3 separate regions of the Homo sapiens genome follow, and all the other regions are linked to region 2. The links are contacts of gene promoters, found by promoter capture Hi-C in blood cells and fetal thymus (Javierre and others, 2016). All regions are on one chromosome and are shown on one strand. Each heading gives the region's core, a stretch centred on a gene start or on the middle of the fragment in contact. The rest is flanking DNA. Distances are from core to core; before and after follow the strand shown. Region 1 overlaps TPP2 (tripeptidyl peptidase 2). Region 2 holds the start of TEX30 (testis expressed 30). Region 3 has its middle 30 kb from the start of TPP2.

Region 1 (4,405 bases), core at 794-3,293, 150 kb after region 2:
ATCACCTTTATGATTCTGGACCTAGTCCTTTAGCTACGATCTCTAGCTTAAAATTCTCTAGAAGGTTGCTGTGAGCTATCGCAACGTACCACTTTATCACCTCATAAATCTATATCTCATTGGTCAATCTGAAATGGGATACCTCCACTGGTCACAATGGAGAGCAGGTTTCCATCATCGTATATATTAACGGAGTAATTCAACATCTCAGCTGTGCCAAAAGAGCCATATTCTTGGGCTTCTTTGTAGTTTCTCAACACGGTAGATTTACTCAAGTCCCCATCTTCATTAGAATCAATGCAGGCTCTATTAATTAAAAAGAAATGGAGACAGTAAAATTTATTTTCTTACCTTTCTAAAAATCATGTAACATAGTCTCTCCACTATTTTACTATACTACTACCTCTACCACAACAAATATAAATATAATGACTGCCTGGTTTAGCCTGTTTCTTAGAGTGGGCAGTAAGGATTAGGTAAGATAGCTTACAGCAACCAGTTCTTAAATCATGCACAAAGTGCTTTAAAAATACCCTCCTTCACAAAACTCTAGGTTAAAAACCACCTGGACTCTTAAGAATTACAGCTAAAACTTGGCTTAGAGTTTTAGAGCAGTTTAGGATAGTTCAGACACATGGCCTAGGTCTAACTTCCAGCTGCTTCTTTTAGTAATGGCTTCAAGAATCTAACGGCTTACACAAGCTCTTTGAAACTAGGTGAATTTTACTGAGCTTCAGTCCTATAGTTATAACAGACTTAAATTTATTTCTCACAGAAGGCATTTTCTACATTACTTTATGGTTGTCTTCCTTCATGTTTTTTCCATTTTACTAACTAAAATAGTTTTTAAATTATATTCCGAACACTTTAGAAGATAGCCTGATTAAAACAAAATACACTTAATATTCAAAAAGTCATAAATGAAATGAACATCATTAAAAGTTCAATATTATGTTTTTAGCTCTAAGTATGTTTTAAATGCAAGAACTGTATTTTAACAAGCTATGCAAGTCAGTCAAAATTGCCAAGTAAATTAATAGAAGCCTACTGGTAGAGCACAGAGAGATGATTTATCATAAATACTGAAGCATATTTCATTAACAAATTACAACACTTTGGAAAAAAGGATTCTTAAAAATTTGTTTTTATGCATTGCCCTAATATGACTGATGTAATTTCAAATAATAGAATATACGAAGGTATAGGAAACTAAACACTTATGGAGAAAATGAAGCAAAGAGCAAACAAGTCACATATTAAACAGAATCAGGCTTGAGATTAGTGGGTAAAATGCATGTCACCAAATCTTCCACATGCTACAGAAGTAGCACTTGTCTCCAAAATTTATGCAATCGGCCAGCATCCATCCTGGAAGTCATCTACAAAGTCCTCCCTCTGTTCTTCCCCCAGCCCATCTAACCGCACAGTCCCATCTCCATAATGTGTCCGCCTATTTCCACTGTCTCTTCCTTACCGCTGTTGCCTGATGAGCTGATGGCCTGCTCTGCCCCTACATTTGACTCCTGCTGAAAACCTTCCATGTCTTCCAACGGCTCTTAACATTGAAACTCCAGAGCAATGCCCCTAATAATCATCTGCTCACCTCCCTCACCTCCTGCTCCCATCATATCCTCTGTGGCCACACCAAACTTCTCACAGTTCCTCCAACATCCTCTGGATCTTTCCCCCACCCTTTCTACCTCTCTGCTTAGTTTACTGTGATGATCCTTCAAGTCTCAATGTAAGATGTTATTAATACTTTTGGGAAATCTTTCTCGATTCTTCCTAGACTGGTTCAGACGTTCCCAACACTTGCTTCCATGGAATCTAGAGTCCATGGAGTAGCTTCTATGGTGTCAACCTGGTACAAAGAAGGTACTCAATAAACATCTGCCACATGATTAAGGAATTAACGAAATCATCATCCTTAACAACATTCTCACAGCAAATACAGTGACACATTCCACAGGTCAGTTTCTTATAACCACCATCATTGGAATGACTCAACAATACAACCAACACATCAAAACATAAATTATTACTGACTTCTCTAAATAACACGACAGAGGACAAGTATGAATGTGGTGCAAGGTTATAACTTTCTGAAGGTCTAGTTGACTGAATTCAAGTAGCAGCTAGAATACAGAGAAAGGATATCAAAATGAGGCTCATACACAGAGCAGGGTACATGTAAGTGGGGAGGATGAGAGAAAAGGCTTTTGTTTTATGTATTTCTCGACATTTTCACACATCTCTCAATTTTCTGTGGAAAGAATCTAGAGCTTTCATCAAGAATCTAAAAGGAAACATGACATAAGCAAGGTCAAAATCCACTGTAAAGAAATCAACTAATAGCTTCTCCTTTATGTAATCCTCTGTAAACACTGTTTCTCTCAACCAGTTTTTGTTCCATTTGGAGTGACAATGAGTCTGAGGCTCTGCGTCCTGACAGATGCTCAGAACAGAGTCATCTGAGGCCACCCGTTAAGTGCAGAGATACGCGCTAAACAATTAGCAGAAATGTGGCAGGGAGAGCACAGACTGGACATTCGTCATCAAACAAAACAAAACAAAAAACCCACGGTACTTAAAGAATAGGTCACTTTACCTCCCTTCAGAAATGGTTGGCATTTTTGAAATGTGAAATGAGAACATCTGCAGACAGGACTGGATTAACCTTATGTACCCTGGGATCTACAAGGTTCTCTTCAAAAAATTTTGGATCTCTGAGATCAAAGCCCTATAGGATATACTGTATTATGCAAAAAAGTTACATTATATCTAGTACCACCTGAAAGTATAATTATGCTATATTCATTTATTATAATAAAATGTTCTAAAATGTTATTCTGAGATTTCAGATTTTATTTCACTTAATGTTAGATTAAATTTCATTTCTAACTCAAAAGTTCTAAACAAAACCCTTAGAATAGTTGTCAACAAACTGCTACAAGTGAGTCACTTTATCAAGCACCTTGAAGACCAAGGAAATCTTGTGGAAACACACACTGGTACCCTGGACATCCTGACTCCGGATTCCTTTTCCTAAGACAAAGTAATCTGCAGTGTTTTCAGAACCTAGAGCAAACACTTTAAATGAAACCACCTATTGCCTCACTACTCAATCCCTGCTAATATTTTAGTATTTCTTTAAGTTCTTTTGTAGTATATACTTTCCTAAATATACTCTGTTTCGTATTTAGCATTTTCCTTGAATTTAACCTTGCCTCCTTTCCCACACTAAAACGCACCTAAGGCTTATCACTGAGTGTGACTGTATCATGTTACCCCAGATGGTGGATGTATCAAGGTTTATTATTCTGTATAAAGCCTCTGGAAAATAATTTTTCAAAACGTGTATGCATATGCACACAACAAAACAACATGTATGAATACACACAAAAGTGCATTAATATTTAATATCTAGATTGAAAGAGTTATGTGCAGTTATTTTATTAACACCATCATCCCCAAATTGAGCAGAAATTTCTCATTCAACTTAACATTGCATACACCTTTGATGAAAGATGAGTTAGTACCTGCACACGTGGGAGGAGAACCCTCCTTTAAGAAGGGTGCACTGTGAAGGTGAACAATTGTGAGAGCAGTGAGGAAGCAGTCATGGCATGATCTGTGTGTGCCCCACCTTGTGATGCAATTCTTTGTGTATAAGCAGGGACGCAGACTACAAGTAATTCTTGACTACAAGTTTAAGAAATAGTCCCTGTTTGTTTGTTTTTTTTTTGCAGAAATCCTAAAGCACACATATGGCTAAATATCTGTATTAACAATGTCTTCCTGTTTTCATGCAGATAGTAACTCAAGAAGGCAGACTAATCAACTCCAAGAAGCACATATGCAGTATATAAGGCACTAAAAAAGAAACTAAAAAACGTACATGATGGGTAACTTGGTATAAATCGCATTATTATTATTAGTTTTAGTAATAGAAACAGCAGCAGCAACAGCGTACATTGATTGCTTACTATATCTAGAAACATCAAATTTAATTTTCACAAAGCCCTGTAAGCACCACTATCTCAATTAACAAATGAGGAAACATTTCCAAATATACGGATGGTCAACATACTAATAAATTATTAATGAAGTAAGTTTATTTAAATCAGATAAAAGTCAGGTTTAGTGTCAATAATTATAACTAGAAGTTCAAGGGGCTTGTCCAAAACTACCCAGATGCCAATTTGGCCCTTAAATGATTTTGCTGAGTGATATCACGAATAAACCAAAATTCTGTGCAGCTCTGAGCATTTAATGTTTTTCAGAGTAGAAAAGAAAACATTTGTAAATGAAGATGTATAAAATACACGAAGTTTACCTCCAGACTTCGCCATCATGCCATACCAAGCAGTCATATACAGGGCCAGGATCGCTGTATTTCTTCTCA
Region 2 (4,542 bases), core at 142-2,641:
TGGCTTGGGCCTGTTTCTTTAGGGCAGTTTTGGCCGTTTTTTTAGGGCATCCTGTTCTGACCAGATCCTGTTTTGCTCAGCAGGTGGTGATCAGTGCTTGGAAAGTCCTGCTGATCTCCTACCTCAACTATAACTGTGCAAATACTTTTCAGGGGGATAATGGAAATGTTCTTAAATTATAGTGATGGTTGCAAATGGTTTTAAAATTACTGAAAATGATTGAATGGTACACTTCAAATGAGTGAATTTTATGGCATGTAAAGAAATGTTTTTTAAAAACACAGCTAAAAAATTAGGAGACAAAGAAGTATTAAGACTTTGTAATTTGGGGAAACACTTGTGATAAATGACAGCGACTATGTGGTTTTGTGGAATGTATTTCCTTGTATGTACCGTGACAGAAAAGAGGGCAGGTGCCAACTGCACTGGGCTTGGGGAAGATTCATTCATTTAAGAAATTTTTTTTTTTCTGAGCATTATTCATACACAAGAGGTTCACGGTTAAAACAAAAATTTACAAAAAGCAACCCTTTCTTCACCTGGGAGCTTATAGCGCAGTGAGGAGACACAGATACATCCATAGCTCGTGAGGTGACCGGGGAAGGACAGGAAGAGCGGGGAGGTGATCAGGGGAGGCCTCGCTGTGAAAACCACGCGCCCTGTCGACCCCGAGGAGACGCGGCCCACGCTGGGAGGGAGCAGCCAGGACAAAAGCCGGTCGTCGTGGGGTCCCGCCTGGTGAGTGGGGGTGAGGACAGCGAAGTGTGGGCTGCCCTGGGCTTCCAGGGAAAGGAGCCAGATGGAGAGGGGAGATGTGGGGGACCGATCGCGTGCAACAGCCTAGGCCACTGCCGGCCGCTGGCTGTGGCAATGAGCGCGGAGCCTTTGGAAGATCCAGGGGACAGGCTTCCACAGCATCCACGTGGCTGCGGCGTCGCCGACAAGGCCCAGGCGGGGGCAAGATGGTACGAAGCGACCATTTAAGTGATTGTTACAATCATCCCCGCAAAGATAACAGGGGGCTTGACCCCATGTAGAAGTGTGCGAAGCGGCTGGTTTCTGTCAGCGTTTGACCTTAACGGGAGTAACGAATCGACTATGGGTGTGAGGAAGACTGGTCAGAGCTGATCGCGCCTCGGAATGGAGTGGTGGCTGGGATGCGGAAAGGCCCCGAGTGGAGCAATCCTGGGTGAGGCGGAAACGGGGGCTGACTTTCCAGCCGTCCGCGTGCTACTGAGGCGGCGGCCACCCTGGCACCTTCCCCTAGCTCCGCTAGTCCGCGCGTACAGCCCTGGGATGTGGCGGGCTGGGAGACCCACGCTCCCGGCGTGCTCTGCGGCCCGGCCCGCGCACCCGGGGGGCGTGGCCTGCGCGCGCGTGCGTCGTAGCCGAACGCTGTGGCGGGGCAGGCGAGGCGGTCGCTTCGAGCGCGCTAGTCAGCTCCCTGAAGGGAGTGACGGCGGTTGGGTGCCCGCGGCCACTTTTGCCTTCCCGGGTAAGTGCGGCGGTGGCGGTTGGCGCCGCCGGCTGACGGGCGGCTTCCTGGGAGACGGGGAGAGCACCCGGCAGGCCCGCCTGAGACGTTTGAGGCTCGCGGGCGTCACTCCTCAGGGGCGTCTGGTCCGAGCCGGGAGGCGTTCCGCTAAGTTCGGTGCCCGCGGGCACCAGCCGGTGGGGGCTTCGTCCGCTTTGCCGGGTAGGAGGGCGGAATGTGGGGTTGGTACGGGCGGGGAGAGCCGGACGGGGCCAACCTGGACCACGTCAGCCAGTCCCGGGTGACTGGCTCGAAGTAGCCTCGGAGTTGAGAGGGGTCGACCGGGGCAGCCCGCGGCGCAGCCCCGGCAGCGCGCATTTGCGGAGAGAACGGATCCCGTGCCCCGAGCGCCGCCGAGCCCCGCACGCCCGTGAGACCCGCTTTGAATTTTCTCTCCATGTTTGCTGGGGTTGTTGACCCGACCCCCCGTAAGACTCGGACTCAACGTTTTTGTTTGCCCCACGACAGCCAGCTTAATGCTGTGGACGTAACAGGGCACGAACGTTTGTAACTGAAAGTTGAAGGGGCTGTGGCGTCTCCGTCCCGTGGCGTGGGAGGTGATCGCCCAGCCCTTGTGAGTAGTTGTCGTCCTAGAACTCCGCCGACCGCCTAGCCGGTGGAGCCGGCGCTCCGGACGCCACTAGAGCTGGCGTTTCGTGGGCGCAGCACCTCTAGCCGGTCATCTTCACCATCGCCATTGAGGGCACTGAGGCCGGGCCAGGCTTCAAACCCTGCCCTCTCTGAACCTGAAGCCAGAGATGAAAACCCAGACGACAGTGGCCTGGCACGGTGGCTCACGCCTGACCCCAGCACCATGGGAGGCCGAGGCGGGTGGATCACCTGAGGTCAGGAGTTCAAAACCAGCCTGGCCAACATGGTGAAACCCCGTCTCTACTAAAATTAGCTGGGCGCGGTGGCGGACGCCTGTAATCTCAGCTACTCGGGAGGCTGAGGCTGGAGAATCTCTTGAACCCGGGAGGCAGAGGCTGCAGTGAGCCGAGATCGCGCCGCTGCACTCCTGCCTGGGGGACAGAGCAAGACTCTGTCTCAAAAAAACAAACCCAGATGACCTAGAGCAGGTTGCTTGGGGATTGCATTATGGGGCATTTTCCGTGTTTCTGAAGAAAACCAGCATGTGTGCAGCTGCCGTGAAGAACACACTGTGCATCGTGAAGTCTGAAAAGAAGTAAAGCAGACCGGGAGAGGTGGCAAACGCCTTGGGATCCCAACGGTTTGGGAGGCCAAGGCAGGGGGTATCGCTTGAGCCCGGGAGTTCAAGACCAGCCTGCGAAACATAGGGAGACCCTCGTCTCTACAAAAACATTTAAAAATAATAAGCGGGCGTGGTGGTGAGCGTCTGTAGTCCCACCTACTCAAGAGGCTGAGGCGAGAGGATCGCTTGAGCTCAGGAGTTCGAGGATTCAGTGAGCTTATGATTGCGCCACTCAATTTTCCGGCCTGTCCGCCGGAGCGAGAACCTGTCTCAAAAAAAAAAAAAATAGGGAAGCATTCTAAATTAAGATAGTGGTTGTTTACATGCATCTAAATTTACTCCTTCATGAAGTTTCACTAAACTTACATTAAGGCTATTTAAAAACAAACATGAACCTCCAGCAATGGGAGAATAGGAAAGGAAACGCTGGCAATCAAATAGCGGGCTCCAAAACATGTATGGCTTAGCAAACCCTGTATTAACCACAGAATCTTCAAACTGCACGGAAACTGGCAGCACTGGACAGCGGTGGTACTGGGAATGAAGGTGGTGTGGTGCAGAAGGTGGGTGTAAGGAGCTTAAAGAAAGATGATTTAGGTGAAATCTGAGAAGCAATTGGATATCCAGATCCCCTTCCCCATTTCACCTGTTGGGTGACTGCCTTTCCCCTTGTTAGAAGACTGGATGGAGGCTTATTCTCTTGAGAAAGTAAAACAGAGGATCTTTGAACTGAGAAACCCAGGCATAATTGTGGGGCTGCATGTATGAAGATAGGGACACTGAAGCTTGAAGTCTTTCATCTCCTTTGTCTCACTCAACTTCCAAAACTTTTGCAGTCAGATCAGACTAATGCTCTCCAGGCTGAAATAAGAGAATTCTACACGCTCACACACACAGATGGGGAAAGGTACATAATAAGTTGCTTATGGTGGTTTCTAGGAAGTGAAAGGAACTTGGTGGTTGGGGGAAGAGTGTGTGGAAACTTCTGTTTACATTGTCTTTTAAAATGTACCATGTACACACGATACCTATTCAAAAATGAAATGTATTCTTCACCTCAGGAAGATCTATGAAAAACATATTCTGTAAATTATGAACAAATACTTTGACTTCTGTTTACATTTTTTTAATGTACCGTGTGCACATGATACCTATTCAAAAATGAAATGTATTCACCTTGGGAAGTTCTATGAAAAAATTCTGTAAAAAATTATGAACAAACCCTTTGACACAGCGATTCCTTCCCCAGGAATTTATCTTATAAATACACTTACATCGTGTGAAAATAAGTACAGTGCTATGTGGAAGGATAAGTAAGAAGCAGATAATATTGGTTACCTTTGGAGAGGGGAATCTGATGTCAAGTCAAGAGTGGAATGAGTGAGACTTTTTCACTACATATTCTTGGTACCTTTTGAACTTTAAACCATGTTATTGTTACCTATTGAATGAATGAATAAATAAATGTTAATGGGAAAAATGGGTGAGTAATGGAGATCCTGATGTTGGTAATGTCTTAAACAATACAAGAGCTCTTAACATAGGAAGGAATGCTGCATAACAACCCCAAAATTTCAGTGGCTTACATTTTATGCTCATGGATCTTCAGATCAGCTGTTGGTCAGATGTTGGTTAGACTAGTCTGGACTCCAGACTTCAGTTTTGGGTTCAGTTCTGTTCCGTGTGTCTTCATTTTGAGACCCAGGCTGAAAATGCAAAACCACCTAGAGCATGTTTTTCTCATGGCTGAGGGTGAAAGTTCAAAAGGGCTTCTGGAAGTTTGCCATGCCTCAGC
Region 3 (4,344 bases), core at 349-2,848, 210 kb after region 2:
GAAATCACTTATTTAGTTAGGATAGCTACAACTTCTATGATATGGGTGCATTAACAAGTTATGTTTTTTTTTAATTATTTTATTTTATTGAGATGGAGTCTCTCTCTGTTGCCCAGGCTGGAGTGTAGTGGCATGATCTTGGCTCACTGCAGCCTCCGCCTCCTGGGTTCAAGAGATTCTCATGCCTTAGCCTCCTGAGTAGCTGGGATTACAGGTGTGTGGCACCACGCCCAGCTAAATTTTGTATTTTTAGTAGAGACAGGATTTCACCATGTTGGCTAGGTTGGTCTCGAACTCCTGGCCTCAAGTGATCTACCTGCCTCGGCCTCCCAAAGTGCTGGGATTACAGGCATGAGCCACCACACCCAGCCACAAGTCACGTTTTAATGCTTTAGTGACACACTAGAATTCACTCCTTAATTGATAGCAGTGATGCTGGAGTTTAGTGATAGATGAGAGTGTATGCTGATGTGACAAGAAGAATGTGCATGAACCCGGTGACATTATAGGTATACATGGTGACTAAAGTATTAGCAGTGTCGGAATAATAGATATCTTCATAGTAGAAGGTCTTTCTCCAAGACAGCCCTGGTAGTCCTCCAATCTTGTTTGCCATCATGAGAATATTTATTACTTTTATACACTGACATAAAACTGAACTCACATTTCATAATTTGGTAGGTGATTTCATGCCTTTTTGTGTTTCTGCTGGATTTAGGGCAGTTACAATTCCCTCCACTGGGCAGCTGTGTTCTCTCAACACCAGGTGAGTGGTCATACTGATGAGGGTTGAGATGTGGGGACCATGGACAGCAGAAAGTAAGTGCTCAGGGCTAGAAAGCAGTCATCGGTGGGGGAGAGAGAGTGCCTCCCAGACAAGGGGAAGCAGCACTGGAGCCTGTGGAAGAAGCTGGGAGAGGGAGGTCAGTGTGCTGGAGGAGCTGCACTACGGCATGAGCAGCTATTGCGGCCAGTGGTGCCTCGGACCATTCCTGATTTCCCTGCCACCTTGGGGGTGTCACCATTATGGCAAGACACCTCAGGACATGCCTCTGTTTACTGAAGTGTGTGCAACAAGGCTGTGTTACTTAGGAGATTTATTAAAGATGCAGCGGCTTTCACCTGATTAGGTGAGAGCTGTCAGCCTCAGAGGGTATCCTCAGAGCTTAGGAAGTATTGACCTTCCAAAACTCTATCAGGGAAGAGATAGAGCAGAGTCAGAGAACTGATGGAACCAGCGAAGCAAGTATCACCAGGGCCTTTTGCCCAGGTCTTGACTCTATGTGTCCACTCAGTAGGTGGGCTTCCTTCCTCCTTATTTCATGCGCTTTCTGCACATGACGGGACACGTGTCCAGTGAATTCTTGACTTTTACATGTCATGGTTTCACTAATAAAAGACTGCCCTTTTCTTTCTCCATAATCAATTCAAAAGTCTTTTTTTTTAATTTTAATGCCAGAGAGGGGTTAATTTGGATTTCTGGGTCAGATGGTCAAAAATTCCAAGGAAATCCCATTGAAACAGCTTAGCTCAGGAAGTCAAGCCTGTATAAATCAACTGTGGCCAGAGATTTGGGGTCAGTGAGAGAATGGAGCTGCCATTCTAGCCATGGGGCTAGCAGGCCAGCTACTCGAAGGAAGGGGAAGCACTGGGAAGAGGCATCATAGATTTTTGGCTACAGGAATAGTATCAGTCCATATGGTCATGATGTAGAAAGTTAATTTTTGTTATTACTATTATTGTCATATGAATGATGCCAATTTTATTTTCATTAAATTCTCAGCCCCATCTTTTGTTTCTCTTGTTCTTACCAAAACTCAAAGTGCATAATAGGAGCTAAAAGGATATTTGCTAAATTGAATGAGATTTACTTTCATGTTAATTATGACATATACATATTGTTTACAATTTTCAGTTAAGAATTACAGAAATTAGTATTCTAAATTTTCTTTCAACATCTGTTACAAAAAGTCTCTTTTGTAAGGAGGCATATTCACTACCCTTTGTATTTGCTTTATGTATACCCGTGAAGTGTAGAGATTAAGGAGGACATGAGCCTACTTTCTTTTTGACATTTACAGTAAGGTGACCTACAGCTTGCAAAGTGGCTGTTTTTTGTGTTCTTCCCTGCTGGGCTGGATGGTGGCCCACACAGGGCACCAGGGTCACATGTCAGGGATTAATGCCAAGTACTGTGAAGTAGGCTTTAAAGAGAAAGGAAAAACAAGGCAGAGTCATGAAGAGAAGTCATGGATCCCCCTCCCCACCTGCTTTATCTGGAGAGAAATGTTCTCAAGTCTGCTGGACACAAAACAGGGGTTGAATTTCAGTGGAGTCCCCTTTCTTATGGTGCAAGAGTTAACGCATCAGTAGGGAACACAGCATCAGTTTGAAAACCAGACAGTCTCGATTTGGGTGCCAACTGAAGATAGGAGTTTTCTGAGGAAACAAGCTGCTCAGAACCTGGTGACTTTGGGGACCTGGGGGAATGAGGCCACCAGAACTATGGGAAGATGAGATTGGGAAAGGCTCTTCCACGGGGAGAAGAGGATGTTTATGCTACTTGCTTAAGCCAGCTCATTGTCAGGTCAACCAGAGTGGGACATCACAGTCATGCTGGGGGCTAGGGAAAATAAGGGCGTAGGTGAAAAAAAGACTACTTTTAAACCGAGGGACCAAGATGCACTGGATATTTTCCATTTACCACTCCAGGTCCACTTTCTGTCCTTCTTCATCCTTCTCTGTGCTCTGAGAGAATGACTTTTCTCGTCAATGGGTTTCCTTCCATCCTAGCTCCTAGTAAATGGGAGGCCCTGGCAGAGATGGGATGGAGATAAGACAGGAAGGCCAGGGTATTTATTTCCATAGCTTCACCCTTTCGGGGTATCTGTGGTTGGCTTCATCCTCCCACCAAAGGCTCTTGTTGGTTGTCCCTCTTCTATTGTGACTGTGACTGCTCCCTCTGGTTTCCGCACATTCTCTCTGACCTGGCTCCTTTGCCTGTAGTGATAACTGCTGCTGAAGGGGCTGACCCTGAAGGCAGCTGCTGGGCTATGGGTCACTGATGTGGGATCTTGGTGGCACGTCGCCATGTCTTCAGCACCCTTATGGCTTCTACATTTGTATTCTACTTCCCCCATGGTCTTAAAAGTCTTTTCTAAATTAAAATGTCTTTGGTTCTAACTTTAACTTTTTGTTTATATTTAGTAATCTAAGCTTCTACTGTAAACCTAAAAAAATGATATTTATTGAAGGCCAACTATGAGTCTAATAGTATGGTAAACTTTTCCATATATTGTGCCTTTTACTTTTTTCCACAATAATTATGTAAGATGTATTAGGAACTTCATGAGGAGGCTCAGAAAGATTGAGCTTAAGACGCGTGTCTTTTTGACTTGGATACCTGCACACAAAAACACTACACCATGCCTCTTCAACCTTTCACGAAACAGGCAAAAATAACTTACTTTAATTAAAAACAAGGATATAGCTAACTCTGTATTTGTCAGTACTGAGCATTGGAGGAAGAATGCTGTGGGAAGTCAACACCAAACAACCACGTTAGAACCAGTAAATTTAAGCTACTCTTTAAAAGGTGCGATTTTTTTTTCCCAAAACTTATTTTGGGTTTTATCCCTAGAGAGACTTTATTGCTTCTGACTGTCTTCCTTCTGTCCTTTCACATATTCAATTATCTTAAAATCAATCCACCATGGCGTCTGAACTTCTCTTTGTTTCTTCATCATAAACACTCATCTATTTGCCTTTAATTCCATCCCCCATCTCTTCCTTGGCTCTACTCTGCTCTTGCAACCCTAGTGTTTCAGATCTTACATAACAGTCAGTCCCTCCTCTAGCTTTTGAGTGAAAGAAGTCACCTCGTAGGGGTAGATGTGGTTTCCTTGGCACTGGGCTTGGTTAAAGGATGCTGTCTTTGTACAAATTAGGATACAGTCCTGAGTTTGGATGGCACATAGTTCGGCTGAAAAAGCATGGGCTGAGTGCCCGTACCACTTCCCACCTTAGTTGGGTGTCCTTGCTCAGGGCCAGGCAGCCCTAGCTTGGGTCAGCTACCTAATTTTCAGGGTTTCTTTGCTGCTCTACCTCCTGTGGTATCTATTTGCTTATTTCTCTGAACTTAGAACCTAGTGATCTTGTGAGCACGCCAGGTAGCAAAATGCCTCTTGTACCGAAGATTCCACTAGTCTTTTTCCAGTTGTCTGGCATTGCTCCTAAACATTTCTTCATTATGTGCCTGATGTGTTTATTACAATTTTATTTGTAAGAGTAAAACATTGGAAACAAACTGGCTATCTGGCTATTAGAGAATGAGTAAATGATTCA

The links. Contacts are between HindIII fragments. The CHiCAGO score rates a contact against its expected background, and 5 or more counts as called.
Region 1: a fragment that was not itself captured here is called in contact with the fragment with the promoter of TEX30 in region 2 in 9 of 17 cell types (monocytes, fetal thymus, non-activated CD4 T cells and 6 more); the score reaches 10.0 in monocytes.
Region 3: a fragment that was not itself captured here is called in contact with the fragment with the promoter of TEX30 in region 2 in 2 of 17 cell types (non-activated CD4 T cells and total CD4 T cells); the score reaches 9.3 in non-activated CD4 T cells.

Annotation. Positions count from the first base shown.
Region 1 is chr13:102,618,778-102,623,182 of GRCh38, reverse strand. It overlaps TPP2 (tripeptidyl peptidase 2), which reads right to left. Exons shown (of 30, transcript NM_001330588.2): 5 at 4,337-4,405; 6 at 143-306. Among named protein-coding and RNA genes, the nearest start is that of TPP2, 24 kb to the right of the region's middle. The HindIII fragment of the contact is 6,535 bases long and covers 1-4,405 here.
Region 2 is chr13:102,770,635-102,775,176 of GRCh38, reverse strand. It overlaps TEX30 (testis expressed 30), which reads left to right and starts at 1,391. Exons shown (of 6, transcript NM_138779.5): 1 at 1,391-1,495. RefSeq lists enhancers at 281-958, 959-1,636 and a silencer at 1,219-1,558. The HindIII fragment of the contact is 5,388 bases long and covers 1-3,534 here.
Region 3 is chr13:102,564,531-102,568,874 of GRCh38, reverse strand. No RefSeq gene overlaps it. Among named protein-coding and RNA genes, the nearest start is that of TPP2, 30 kb to the left of the region's middle. The HindIII fragment of the contact is 3,240 bases long and covers 1-3,218 here.